3 separate regions of the Homo sapiens genome follow, and regions 1 and 3 are each linked to region 2. The links are contacts of gene promoters, found by promoter capture Hi-C in blood cells and fetal thymus (Javierre and others, 2016). All regions are on one chromosome and are shown on one strand. The core of a region is centred on a gene start or on the middle of the fragment in contact, and the rest is flanking DNA. Distances in the headings are between cores, read along the strand shown.

The links. Contacts are between HindIII fragments. The CHiCAGO score rates a contact against its expected background, and 5 or more counts as called.
Region 1: a contact is called between a fragment that was not itself captured here and the fragment with the promoter of UBA52 in region 2, in 1 of 17 cell types (M0 macrophages). The highest score is 6.3, in M0 macrophages.
Region 3: a contact is called between the fragment with the promoter of COPE here and the fragment with the promoter of UBA52 in region 2, in 1 of 17 cell types (neutrophils). The highest score is 5.3, in neutrophils.

The regions. Positions count from the first base shown.
Region 1 is chr19:18,863,169-18,866,893 of GRCh38, forward strand. It overlaps UPF1 (UPF1 RNA helicase and ATPase), which reads left to right. Exons shown (of 24, transcript NM_002911.4): 19 at 270-444; 20 at 1,002-1,083; 21 at 2,121-2,282; 22 at 2,393-2,610; 23 at 2,876-2,998; 24 at 3,353-3,725. The coding sequence ends at 2,995. Among named protein-coding and RNA genes, the nearest start is that of CERS1, 31 kb to the right of the region's middle. RefSeq lists a silencer at 3,448-3,647. The HindIII fragment of the contact is 3,225 bases long and covers 770-3,725 here.
Region 2 is chr19:18,570,009-18,573,410 of GRCh38, forward strand. It overlaps UBA52 (ubiquitin A-52 residue ribosomal protein fusion product 1), which reads left to right and starts at 1,849. Exons shown (of 5, transcript NM_001033930.3): 1 at 1,849-1,901; 2 at 3,285-3,395. The coding sequence starts at 3,293. RefSeq lists enhancers at 1,183-1,859, 1,230-1,349, 1,560-1,899, 2,538-3,214. The HindIII fragment of the contact is 13,368 bases long and covers 1-3,402 here.
Region 3 is chr19:18,917,781-18,921,411 of GRCh38, forward strand. It overlaps COPE (coat protein complex I subunit epsilon), which reads right to left and starts at 1,607. Exons shown (of 10, transcript NM_007263.4): 1 at 1,443-1,607. The coding sequence starts at 1,568. DDX49 (DEAD-box helicase 49) reads left to right here and starts at 1,935. Exons shown (of 13, transcript NM_019070.5): 1 at 1,935-2,076; 2 at 2,800-2,923. The coding sequence starts at 1,962. RefSeq lists enhancers at 1-707, 1,610-2,209 and a silencer at 1,340-1,529. The HindIII fragment of the contact is 20,861 bases long and covers 1-3,631 here.

The sequences.
Region 1 (3,725 bases), core at 1,132-3,631, 290 kb after region 2:
GCAGGTCTTCTCTCCAAACGTATCCACCCAGCCAGGTGTCTGCCATGGGGCTGCTTAGAGTCGGCCACAAAATCAACCCGTGTGCAGGGTCAGTGGCTTGGCATTGGGCTTTGGGGCCTGTCCCTGTGGCTGGCAGCCTGCCTGCTGCCCGGTCCACGCCTCTGTTGCCTTGGATTTGGGTTCTGAGTGAATGCAGCCTTGCCTCTTGGACCGTCCTGTGAGACGGGCAGCTCTCCACCTGCGTCCTCAGCACTGCGCCCTTGTTGCAGGTATGGCGTCATCATTGTGGGCAACCCGAAGGCACTATCAAAGCAGCCGCTCTGGAACCACCTGCTGAACTACTATAAGGAGCAGAAGGTGCTGGTGGAGGGGCCGCTCAACAACCTGCGTGAGAGCCTCATGCAGTTCAGCAAGCCACGGAAGCTGGTCAACACTATCAACCCGGTGAGCGCCTGCACAGGACAGCAGGGCAGCACGGAGAAACCCGGGCCCAAAACACTGCTGGGAACGTGCCAGCTTGGCCCGTGTGCCCGTGAGCTGAGGGAGGGCTCTCCTAGGGGAGGGTGGGCTCTCCTAGGGGAGGGTGGGCCAGCCCACTTCTTGTCTCCCGAGCCGTGTGTGGCATTTTTGGCTTGGGGCCGCTAAGTCCTGGGTGGCCTCTGGGAATTGGGCTCAGGGCTGCTGTGCTGCATGCAGCAGCCTGGGACCTTGGACACGGGCAGTTGGAAGCTTTGCAAGCCCGGGGTGATCTGGTAGTGAGGGGGTGTGAAGCTTCCTGAGCTGAGGCCCAAGGGTCAGCATCAGAGCCCAGGTCTGCCGAGGAGGGCAGGCGAGACCCAGAGGCCATGAGACAGCAGCTCCCTCCTGTCTCCAGGGAGAGCCCCTGGCACAGTGTCAACACCTCACAGCTGCATACCTGCCACCTCCCAGGCCACCGGGCCCGTGGGAAGTTGTTCCTTCTGTTGAGATGACAAATTCCTCACCTATCTAAACCTTCGCAGGGAGCCCGCTTCATGACCACAGCCATGTATGATGCCCGGGAGGCCATCATCCCAGGCTCCGTCTATGATCGGAGCAGCCAGGGTGAGTCGCTCAGCAGGGGACCTGGCCGACCCCTTGTCCTCACACCGGGATGCTGGCCGTTCCCATGGCTGCAGCTTTAGGTGCCCCCATCTTTCCTTCCCCTCAAGGGCGGTGCCTGGCTCCCTTGGCCTCCCCGCCCCTAGGGCATCTCTAGCCCCGGAACACTCCTGGGGTGTTTGTCTTTAACCAGAGTTTATTCATTTGTGTTTCCTGGTGATCAAGCTAGTTAGCTTTTTCTTGCCTTTTGGTAGGGCAGGGACTGCATGTAGTACAAATAGAACATTTTCATAAAAAGGATTTTTTTTTTCCTTTGGTAAATGCAGGGTGATTTTCATTTATTTTCTTTTTTTTGTTTAGAGACAGGGTCTCCCTATGTTGTCCAGGCTGGTCTCAAACTCCTGCCTCAAGCAGTCCTTCTGCTCAGCCTCCCAAAGTGCTGGGATTACAGGCGTGAGTCACTGCACCTGGCCAATTTGCAGGTGTTTTTTTTTTTTTTTTTTTTTTTGGAGACCGAGTCTCGCTCTGTTGCCCAAGCTGGAGTACAGTGGTGTGATCTTGGCTCACTGCAACCTCCCCCTCTGGGTTCAAGCGATTCTCCTGCCTTGGCCTCCCGAGTAGCTGGGATTACAAGCACCCACCACCATGCCCGGCTAGTTTTTGTGTTTTTAGTAGAAACGAGGTTTCGCCATGTTGGCCTGGCTGGTCTCAAACTCCTGATCTCAGGTGGTCCACCTCGGCTTCCCAGAGTGCTGGGATTATAGGCTTGAGCCAACACGCCCGGCCCCAATTTTCAGTTTTTAAGATCTGTGTAGGCCAATGATTCCCAGCAGACTCTCCTCGGGGAAGGTGCCTGCCCAAGCACCCAGCCCCAGGCAGGCTGCTGTAGTTAACATGGAGTCCTGCGAATCCGCATCTTCAGCCTGGGCAGAGCCAGGACAGATGTGCAGCTCCGGCTGACTGGCTGGTGGGGTGGGTGGGGTATCGCTGGGGTTTGACCGAGGCAGGTGACACCTGCCGTGTTCCACTGTGATTTGCAGGCCGGCCTTCCAGCATGTACTTCCAGACCCATGACCAGATTGGCATGATCAGTGCCGGCCCTAGCCACGTGGCTGCCATGAACATTCCCATCCCCTTCAACCTGGTCATGCCACCCATGCCACCGCCTGGCTATTTTGGACAAGCCAACGGGCCTGCTGCAGGTGAGCATCTGTGGCTGCGGCTGGGTGTGGCCCTCCTGAGAGCTCTTGAGGGTGTGCTTGTCTGCGAGGCCCTGGCCTCCTTCGGATCACCCTGGACTGCTGTCTTTCAGGGCGAGGCACCCCGAAAGGCAAGACTGGTCGTGGGGGACGCCAGAAGAACCGCTTTGGGCTTCCTGGACCCAGCCAGACTAACCTCCCCAACAGCCAAGCCAGCCAGGATGTGGCGTCACAGCCCTTCTCTCAGGGCGCCCTGACGCAGGGCTACATCTCCATGAGCCAGCCTTCCCAGATGAGCCAGCCCGGCCTCTCCCAGCCGGAGCTGTCCCAGGTGAGCCCGCCCCTGGGACGGGACTTACCTGAGTGAGGGTGGGGCTATGCACCTGAAACATTCCCTCTGAAGAGCCCCAGAGAGCTGGCCTGGCCCATGTCCACTGTCTGAATTACCTGTCCCTGGGCTGGGGTCATCAGAGTGGGTCTCCTGGGTCTTAGTTTGGGGACGGGTTTTCCATTCTTTTCTCTGGGGCTGCTGAGGGCTGGGTGGATGTGAGCACCCTTGGCCTGTGGCTTGCTTACCTCCTGACCTTGTCTTTCAGGACAGTTACCTTGGTGACGAGTTTAAATCACAAATCGACGTGGCGCTCTCACAGGACTCCACGTACCAGGGAGAGCGGGCTTACCAGCATGGCGGGGTGACGGGGCTGTCCCAGTATTAAAAGGCAAGCCCCCCTGGAGCAGGCCTGGCCCCACCCCAGCCTCAAGGAGAAGGATGGGAGGGGGCTCTCCCCAGGGAGCTGCACTGGAGGGGTGGTATCTGGAAATGTGTGCTGTGCCTGGTGGGGGTCATAGGCCCTCAGGGCCAGCTTGGCCTGTGCCCTTCACTGCTAGTCAGGGTGGCTCCTCACCCCACCCTACCCCATCCTGTCTGCTCCGGGGACCACCGCGGGACCTCAGTTTCCTCATCAGAGTCGGGGAGGGCAGCTCGGGCTCTCCCTCACTGTCCTGTGTGCTGGGTACCTGTGGGGCTCAGGTCGCAGCCTCTCACCGCCTCCTGCCCTTCTCCCTCCTGACAGGTGGCGGCGGAAGAGCTAAGCAACGTGGCTTAGTCCATCAGCATCTTATTCTGGGTAATAAAAAATAAAAATAAACGGATACCTGTTTTCCACTGCTAAAACTGAAGCACCACTGTGTGAGCAACAGGAAGGGAGAGCGCACGAGGGAGAGGAGCCGAGGCCGAGCGCCCCCTGCTGGCCCGCGGCGGCGAGGAGCAGAGGGAGCGGAGGAGGGGCCGGCCCGCGGGAGCCGCGGCCACCAGGAGGCCCCGCTCCGTCCCATCGGGGCTGCGGCCAGGGCGGAGGGAGGAAGACCCTCATCTCAGAGTAGCCCTTTCCTCTGTTCTTTTATTTCTTTTTCTCTTTGATTGAAAGGGGACTACGTCTTAGCAGG
Region 2 (3,402 bases), core at 599-3,098:
CAAAAAGACCAAAACTGTTGTCTCAAAAAAGAAAAGGAAATTAGGTTCTTAAAGGCATCTTCCCAGACGTGAGAGTGTCTGCTTTTGCCTGGTATAGTAGTGCCTGCAAATGTTCAAGGAAATAAACAGGTACCCCTGTTAAGCCTATAGGTAACTTCTCATTGCTCCCCATCTTCTCTGTACTCAGCACTTTTTTTTTTTGTTTTGTTTTTGAGACAGCACCTCTCTGTTGCCCAGGCTGGAGTGCAGTGGCTGAATCATGGGTCACTGCAATCTCAAACCTATGGGTTCAGGCAATCCTCCTGCCTCCGAAGTAGCTGGGACTGCAGGTGCGCACCACCACACCTGGATAGTTCAAAATAAAACTTTTTTTTGTAGAGACAGGGTCTCACTATGTCTTCCAGGCTGGTCGTGAATTCCTGACCTCAAGTAATCCTCCCTCTTTGACCTTCCAAAGTGCTGGGATTACAAGTGTGAACCACTGCACCCGCCGTGGCACTTTTTTTTTTTTTTTTTTTTTTTGAGATGGAGTCTCACTCTGTCACCCAGGCTGGGTGCAGTGGCGTGAACTCAGCTCACTGCAACCTCCACCTCCCGGATTCAAGCGATTCTCCTGCCTCAGCCTCCTGAGTAGCTGGGATTACAGGCACCCGCCACCACACCTGAAAAATTTTTGTAATTTTTTTTTTCTTTTTTGAGACGGAGTTTTGCTCTTGTTGCCCAGGCTGTAGTGCAATGGCACTCTCTCGGCTAATTGCAACCTCTGCCTCCCGGGTTCAAGCGATTCTCCTGCCTCAGCCTCCTGAGTAGCTGGGATTACAGGCATGCGCCACCACGCCCAGCTAATTTTGTATTTTTAGTAGAGATGCGGTTTCTCCATGTTGGTCAGGCTCGTCTCGAACTCCCGACCTCAGGTGATCCGCACATCTCGGCCTCCCAAAGTGCAGGCGTGAGTCACCGGACCCAGGTCCCGCCCTGGCACTTTTTAACCACCCACAAATCTGGATCCTACACTGAAAAGAGACACTGCAGTGGCTCACGTCTGTAATCCCAGCACTTTGGGAGGCCAAGGCGGGCGGATCACCTGAGGTCGCGAGTTTGAGACCAGCCTGACCAACATGGAGAAACCCCGTCTCTACTAAAAATACAAAAGTGGCCAGGCATGGTGTCGCACACTTGTAATCGCAGCTACTCGGGAGGCTGAGGCAGGAGAATTGCTTGAACCCAGGAGGCGGAGGTTGCGGTGAGCCGAGATCGCGCCATTGCACTACAGCCTGGGCAACGAGAGCGAAACTCCGTCTCAAAAAAAAAAAAAAAAAAAATCCTGAGTCCCGCTTGACACCTTTTGTCAGGCACCACCACCTTTCTGGGCGAATGCGGTAGTACCGTCTGCTCTCCCTGCTGCTGTCCTGAAATCCATTCAGGCACAGCGGCCGAGAGCTTTATAATAACCGATTCCAGGTGTTAGGTGCTTTCCCAGCCCCGACTCCTGCGTCCTGGACCCGCAGTCCTCTGCTTAATACCTTTGCTTTATTAGAAAACATTCTCCTCTACTCCGTTCAGCTATTCGCTGAGGGCCCGCCAACCGCCAGCGGTTGTCAGTGGCCTAGAGGCAGCGGACGCAAACACGGGGAGAGGTGCAATCGTCTCAAGTGACTCGGCGGGCGGGGCCCACAACCGGAAGCGGGTGGGCGACCTTCACCCACGTGCGCTGCGGCTTCGTTCGCCAGCATCCAAGATGGCGGCAGGGCGGGGCCCAAGGCGCGGCGCGAATTGTGACGCAGGCGTCCGGCGTGCTCCGTGCGCAAGCGCTTTCGGCGGCGATTAGGTGGTTTCCGGTTCCGCTATCTTCTTTTTCTTCAGCGAGGCGGCCGAGCTGGTTGGTGGCGGCGGTCGTGCGGGTTCGCGCCGGGCCGAGAGCGGGTTGGGGGCTGCGGGAGGCTGCAGGGGCCTGGGCGGCAGAAGAGGCGGCCCTGAGCTGGCTCATGCGGGCCAGTCTCGGCAGGGTGGCTGGGCAGGGCTCGCGAGGCCACGGCTCGGAGCCCAGACCGGGGCCCAGGAGGCGAGCGCCGTTTTGGAGAGGAGCCTGCCTGCTCTGCCTGCCAGCGTGACCCCACGAGGCCTCGGGCGGGAAGAGGTCCTCGGGGCAGATCCGAGTTAATGAGAGAGGGGTATTGAGCGTGTAGCGTTAACTCTGCCAGTCACTGCGTCAGTCGCTTTGGAAATACTAAATTTCTCGAGCTGAGTCTTCATACCTGGCTCCATTACTACGTCTGTAAGGAGGAGCTGGTGGTAGTGTCTGCTTTTTAGACTTTTCTTTAGACTATTTGTATTTTTTTCAGATGGAGTCTTGCTCTGTCGCCTAAGCTGGAGTTCAGTGGTGCGGTCTCGGCTCACTGCAATCTCCACCTCCCGGGCTCGAGCGATTCTTCTGCCTCAGCCTCCCGAGTAGCTGGGATTATAGGCGCCTGCCACCACGCCCAGTTGATTTTTGTAGTTTTAGTAGAGACGGAGTTTCACCATGTTAGCCAGGCTCATCTTGAACTCTTGACCTCAAATGATCCGTCTGCCTCGGCCTTCCAAAGTGCTGGGATTACAGGCATGAGCCCCTGCGCCCGGTCGATTCTTTGTCTTTTTAAGTCAACTTTTATATGTGAACAATGCTTGGCAGGTGGTTGGTAGATACTAAGTGATGTTCGTGGTTTGGGGTCAAGGCAAGAAGTGGGGTCTGGAGAGTTTTGGTGTAATTGAGAAGGAAGCTAAGAGTGTTGGGTGCTCCAGCTTGGAGTTAGAGAGGAGAGAGGCTGCGACAGGAAGGCATGTGTGTTGTAGGGGATGGCTTCCCATCCAGGCTGGCAGCAGGAGCAGCCTGTGCAGATCAGGACCTGGCTGCCGTGGAAGAGGGTGGGACCGCCTTCAGGGAAGATGGATCTAGCAAGATGATGCCAAAGGGTACTTATTCCATCAGGAGATACTGACGAGTCCTTCCGCCGCTAAACCTAAGGAGAATAACCACAGTCTGTGTTCCTGAAGAGCACCCGTGCGGTCAGGAGGGTGGAGGACATGTGGTCTTTAGTTCCAGGACATGTTTAGACTACAGGCCAGGGTGTGTGAGAAGCCTAGCAGGGCCAGGCTTGGAGGAGTGAAAGGAAGACAGGTACTGGGGCAGGACCAGTTGGACTTGGTGCAGGCAAAGGGATAGCAACTGTGGTGTAGGCACCTGAGCTTGTGCTACTCAGGCATGCATTGCTCACCAGTCTATCCTGCCTCCCTTCCTCCTGCAGACGCAAACATGCAGATCTTTGTGAAGACCCTCACTGGCAAAACCATCACCCTTGAGGTCGAGCCCAGTGACACCATTGAGAATGTCAAAGCCAAAATTCAAGACAAGGAGGGTGAGTA
Region 3 (3,631 bases), core at 357-2,856, 350 kb after region 2:
CATACAACGGGCCCCAGTAAAACAGTGGGCCTTAATAAGCACATTCCTTTCCCTTCAGGTGCACTAAAATAGGCAAGCTAAAAGCAGAGTAGGGGGGTATGCCTGCAGCTGCAGAAAGATGTATGGGAGGCTGGGCACGGTGGCTCACACCTGTAATCCCAACACTTTGGTAGGCCAAGGCGGGCAGATCACAAGGTCAAGAGATGGAGACCATCCTGGCCAACATGGTGAAACCCCGTCTCTACTAAAAATACAAAAATTAGCCGGGCCATGGTGGCGCGCGCCTGTAATCCCAGCTACTCGAGAGGCTGAGAAAGGAGAATTGCTTGAACCTGGGGGCGGAGGTTGCAGTGAGCCGAGATCACGCCACTGCACTCCAGCCTGGCAACAGCGCGAGTCTCCATCTCAAAAAAAAAAAAAAAAGAAAAGAAAAGAAAAGAAAAAAGAAAGATGTATGGGAACAGACACACAACTCTCCCTCCCAGATAAGCACAACGAAGAGACACAGAAGCAGTTCAAGCCTCTGATAAACTCTCCGACCCTGAATCCTTAAAAACTCTTAGTCTGTAAAAGAGTGTTACTCTGACCCAACTCCGCCAGAAGGCGCCTCTCAGGTTTGTTTTCTCTAAAATAAACCTGTCTTGACTGGCAAGCCACCTTTCGTGTTTCTTTCCTCTTTAATTCTTACAACTTTGTCACCCAGGCTGGAGTGCAGTGGCGCGATCTCGGTTCACTGCAACCTCGGCCTCCGGGTTGAAGCGATTCTCCTGTCTCAGCCTCCCGGTAGCTGAGATTACAAGTGCCCGCCACCACGCCCGGCTAATTTTTGGTAGACTCATGGTTTCTCCACGTTGCCCAAGCTGGTCTCGAACTCCTGGGCGCATGCGATCTGCCCGCCTCGGCCTCCCAAAGCGCCAGAATTACAGGCGTTTGAGCCACTGCGCTGGGAAACTGTGTTTATCATTCTGAGTCCAGCGGAATACAGTGCCCGTCCAAAAAAGTGCTCAATGAAGAATGAATGAATGAATGGGTAAGCTCTGGGAGAAATAACCAGGCTGGTTGGGCAGGGAAACGTCCTTCTCTGAACTTTAGGGTTCTCATCCGTAAAATGAGGATAAGCAACAGTCTCCATCTCACGGGAACTGAAGGTATGGCTGAACAAAATAGGCTTATTGTCACTACAGTGGCATAAACACCTCCCTTACTCAAAACACTTTCAAGGGCGCAGAGAGAACGCTGTACGAGTGAGCAGTACCGTAAACTGTTACTGCTCTGGGTTCTGTCACGGGACAGTGACTACTCCTCACTGAACTGTGGAAGAGGTGGCCCAAAAAACGCGAGAAGAAAAGAGAAAGTTTTTAGACGCAGAACGCGGCTCGCGGCCACCAGAAAGCGTCCTCCGCCTCCGCCCCCAGCGTCCCCGCGCCCCTGCGCGGCCGCACCTTCACCCGCTGCGCCTCGTTTATGCACTGCTGGTAGCTGCCGATGTAGAAGGCGTTCTTTACGTCGAACAGCTCGTCTACCTCCCCGGAGCCGCCGGAGGCCGGGCCGGGGGCCGGAGGCGCCATTTCGCTGTCTTCTCACCAGCTCCTCTTCCTGAAAGACACGTCAGCCGGAAGCAAGACACGGGCACGCTAGGAAATGTAGTTTACTTTTTCCGAGCGGCGGCGAAGTAAGCCAATGGGAAGCTCCACAATAATATGCAAGGGGGCGGAAGGCGTAAGTGCGTCACGGAGAGCATCTCGGGAATTGTAGTGTGTTTCTGCAAGCCAATGGGATCCGGGGAAACATGATAAGGATGCGGTCGAGGCTGGGAATAGGCTGAGGGAGCTGGAGAGGGTGGGACCACGCAGGAGGCAGATCCAATAAACAGGAAGATTTTTCTCGTGACGTCGTCGGCGCGCGCCGGAAGCGCGGATCACACGGGCCCCTACAAGGGGCCCCTACAAGCGGCCACAAGGATGGCAGGCTTCGCGGAGCTCGGGCTGTCATCGTGGCTCGTGGAACAATGTCGGCAGCTGGGTTTGAAGCAGCCCACGCCCGTGCAGCTCGGCTGCATCCCCGCCATCCTGGAGGGTGAGTATGGCCCAGGGCCTTCCCCAAGAGGCCTCTCCGCTCCTCTCGACTCCTTTCCCTTCTCGCAACCTTTGCTTATTCCGGTCCCACGAGGCGAGGGGCAACCTCGGGCGTTACAGGAGATCCGGGGTTCCGGAGGACGACTGGACAGTGTTGGCATTTAGGTTGCATGACTGACTCGCTTTGTGTTCGTACGCAAGTGATGTAATCTCTGAAATTTTCATAGTCTCAGCACAGGGAGGGTTTGATGGATGACTAGTCCGATAGTATCGCAAAATCCTGCAGACCTGGTACTGCTATCTTTATTTTACAAATAGAAGTTGAGGCTGTCAAAATTGCTGGTAGATCCAGGACTCCTTGGTCCTGTGATTGCTCCTCTAGGAGAAGGTCTTCTCTCTGCTCCTCTAGCCCAACCCAGTTTCGCCATTAAAGAGAGGCCCACAGGAAGCCTAAGATGTGATAAGTCAGGGATTAAATAAACAAATGAAGGGGTCAACAGGGAGCACAAGATGCATATGAGGGAAGGGAATTCTGGATTCCCCAAATTCACGTGCTCCTGGACGGAGTTAGAACGAGGTGGTAGGAAGCTGTGGGCATCTCGGGTCAAATGGATATGGGTTCCAGTCCAGCCTGCCACTCACTGGCAGTGTGTCCTGGGCAAGGTCTCTGAAACCCAGCTGTCCACACATGGAGGGTGTTGATGCTGCTTTGTCCCCAACCCAGGTCGAGACTGCTTGGGCTGTGCTAAGACAGGCAGTGGGAAGACAGCAGCGTTTGTCCTTCCCATCTTGCAGAAGCTGTCTGAGGATCCCTATGGCATCTTCTGCCTCGTCCTGACACCCACCAGGTAAGCCCCCAGCAGGCCTCCTGGGTATGGGTTAACCAGCTGTGCTCTCTTGGGCAAGCACCTTTCCCTCTCTGAGCGCCCTTTTCCCACGTGTGAGATGAGCATGAAAATCTTGCTACCCGCTTCTTAGGGGTCCTGCAGAATTAAACAAGATGGCCCCGGTGCAGTGGCTCACACCTGTAATCCCAGCACTTTGGGAGCTCCAGGTGAGCGGATCACTTGAGGCCAGGAGTTTGAGACCAGCCTGACCAACATGGAGAAACCCCGTCTCTACTAAAAATACAAAAAATTAGCTGGGCATGGTAGCGCATGCCGTAATCCCAGCTACTCGGGAGGCCGAGGCAGGAGAATCGCTTGAACCCAGGAGGCGGAGGTTGCGGTGAGCCAAGATCGTGCCATTGCACTCCAGCCTGGGCAACAAGAGCAAAACTCTGTCTCAAAAAAAAAAAAAAGAAAGAAAGAAAGAGGCAGGCAGCAGAAAGGGTACTGGGACCTGGGCATATTGGAGCCAGTTTGAGAAAGGCCTTGAATGCCAGGCGGAGGGTTAGAATTGATTCTGGGGGTGTGTGAGCAGGAAAGGTCATGAGCCAGGGAGAGGCCAGGACAGAGTTGGTTGGGGGCAGAAAGGAGGCTGATGCTTGAGACCCTCTGGCTGGGGCAACTGGCTGGTGGTGAGGCCATTGCTGAAAGGCGAACTGGGGGAAGGCA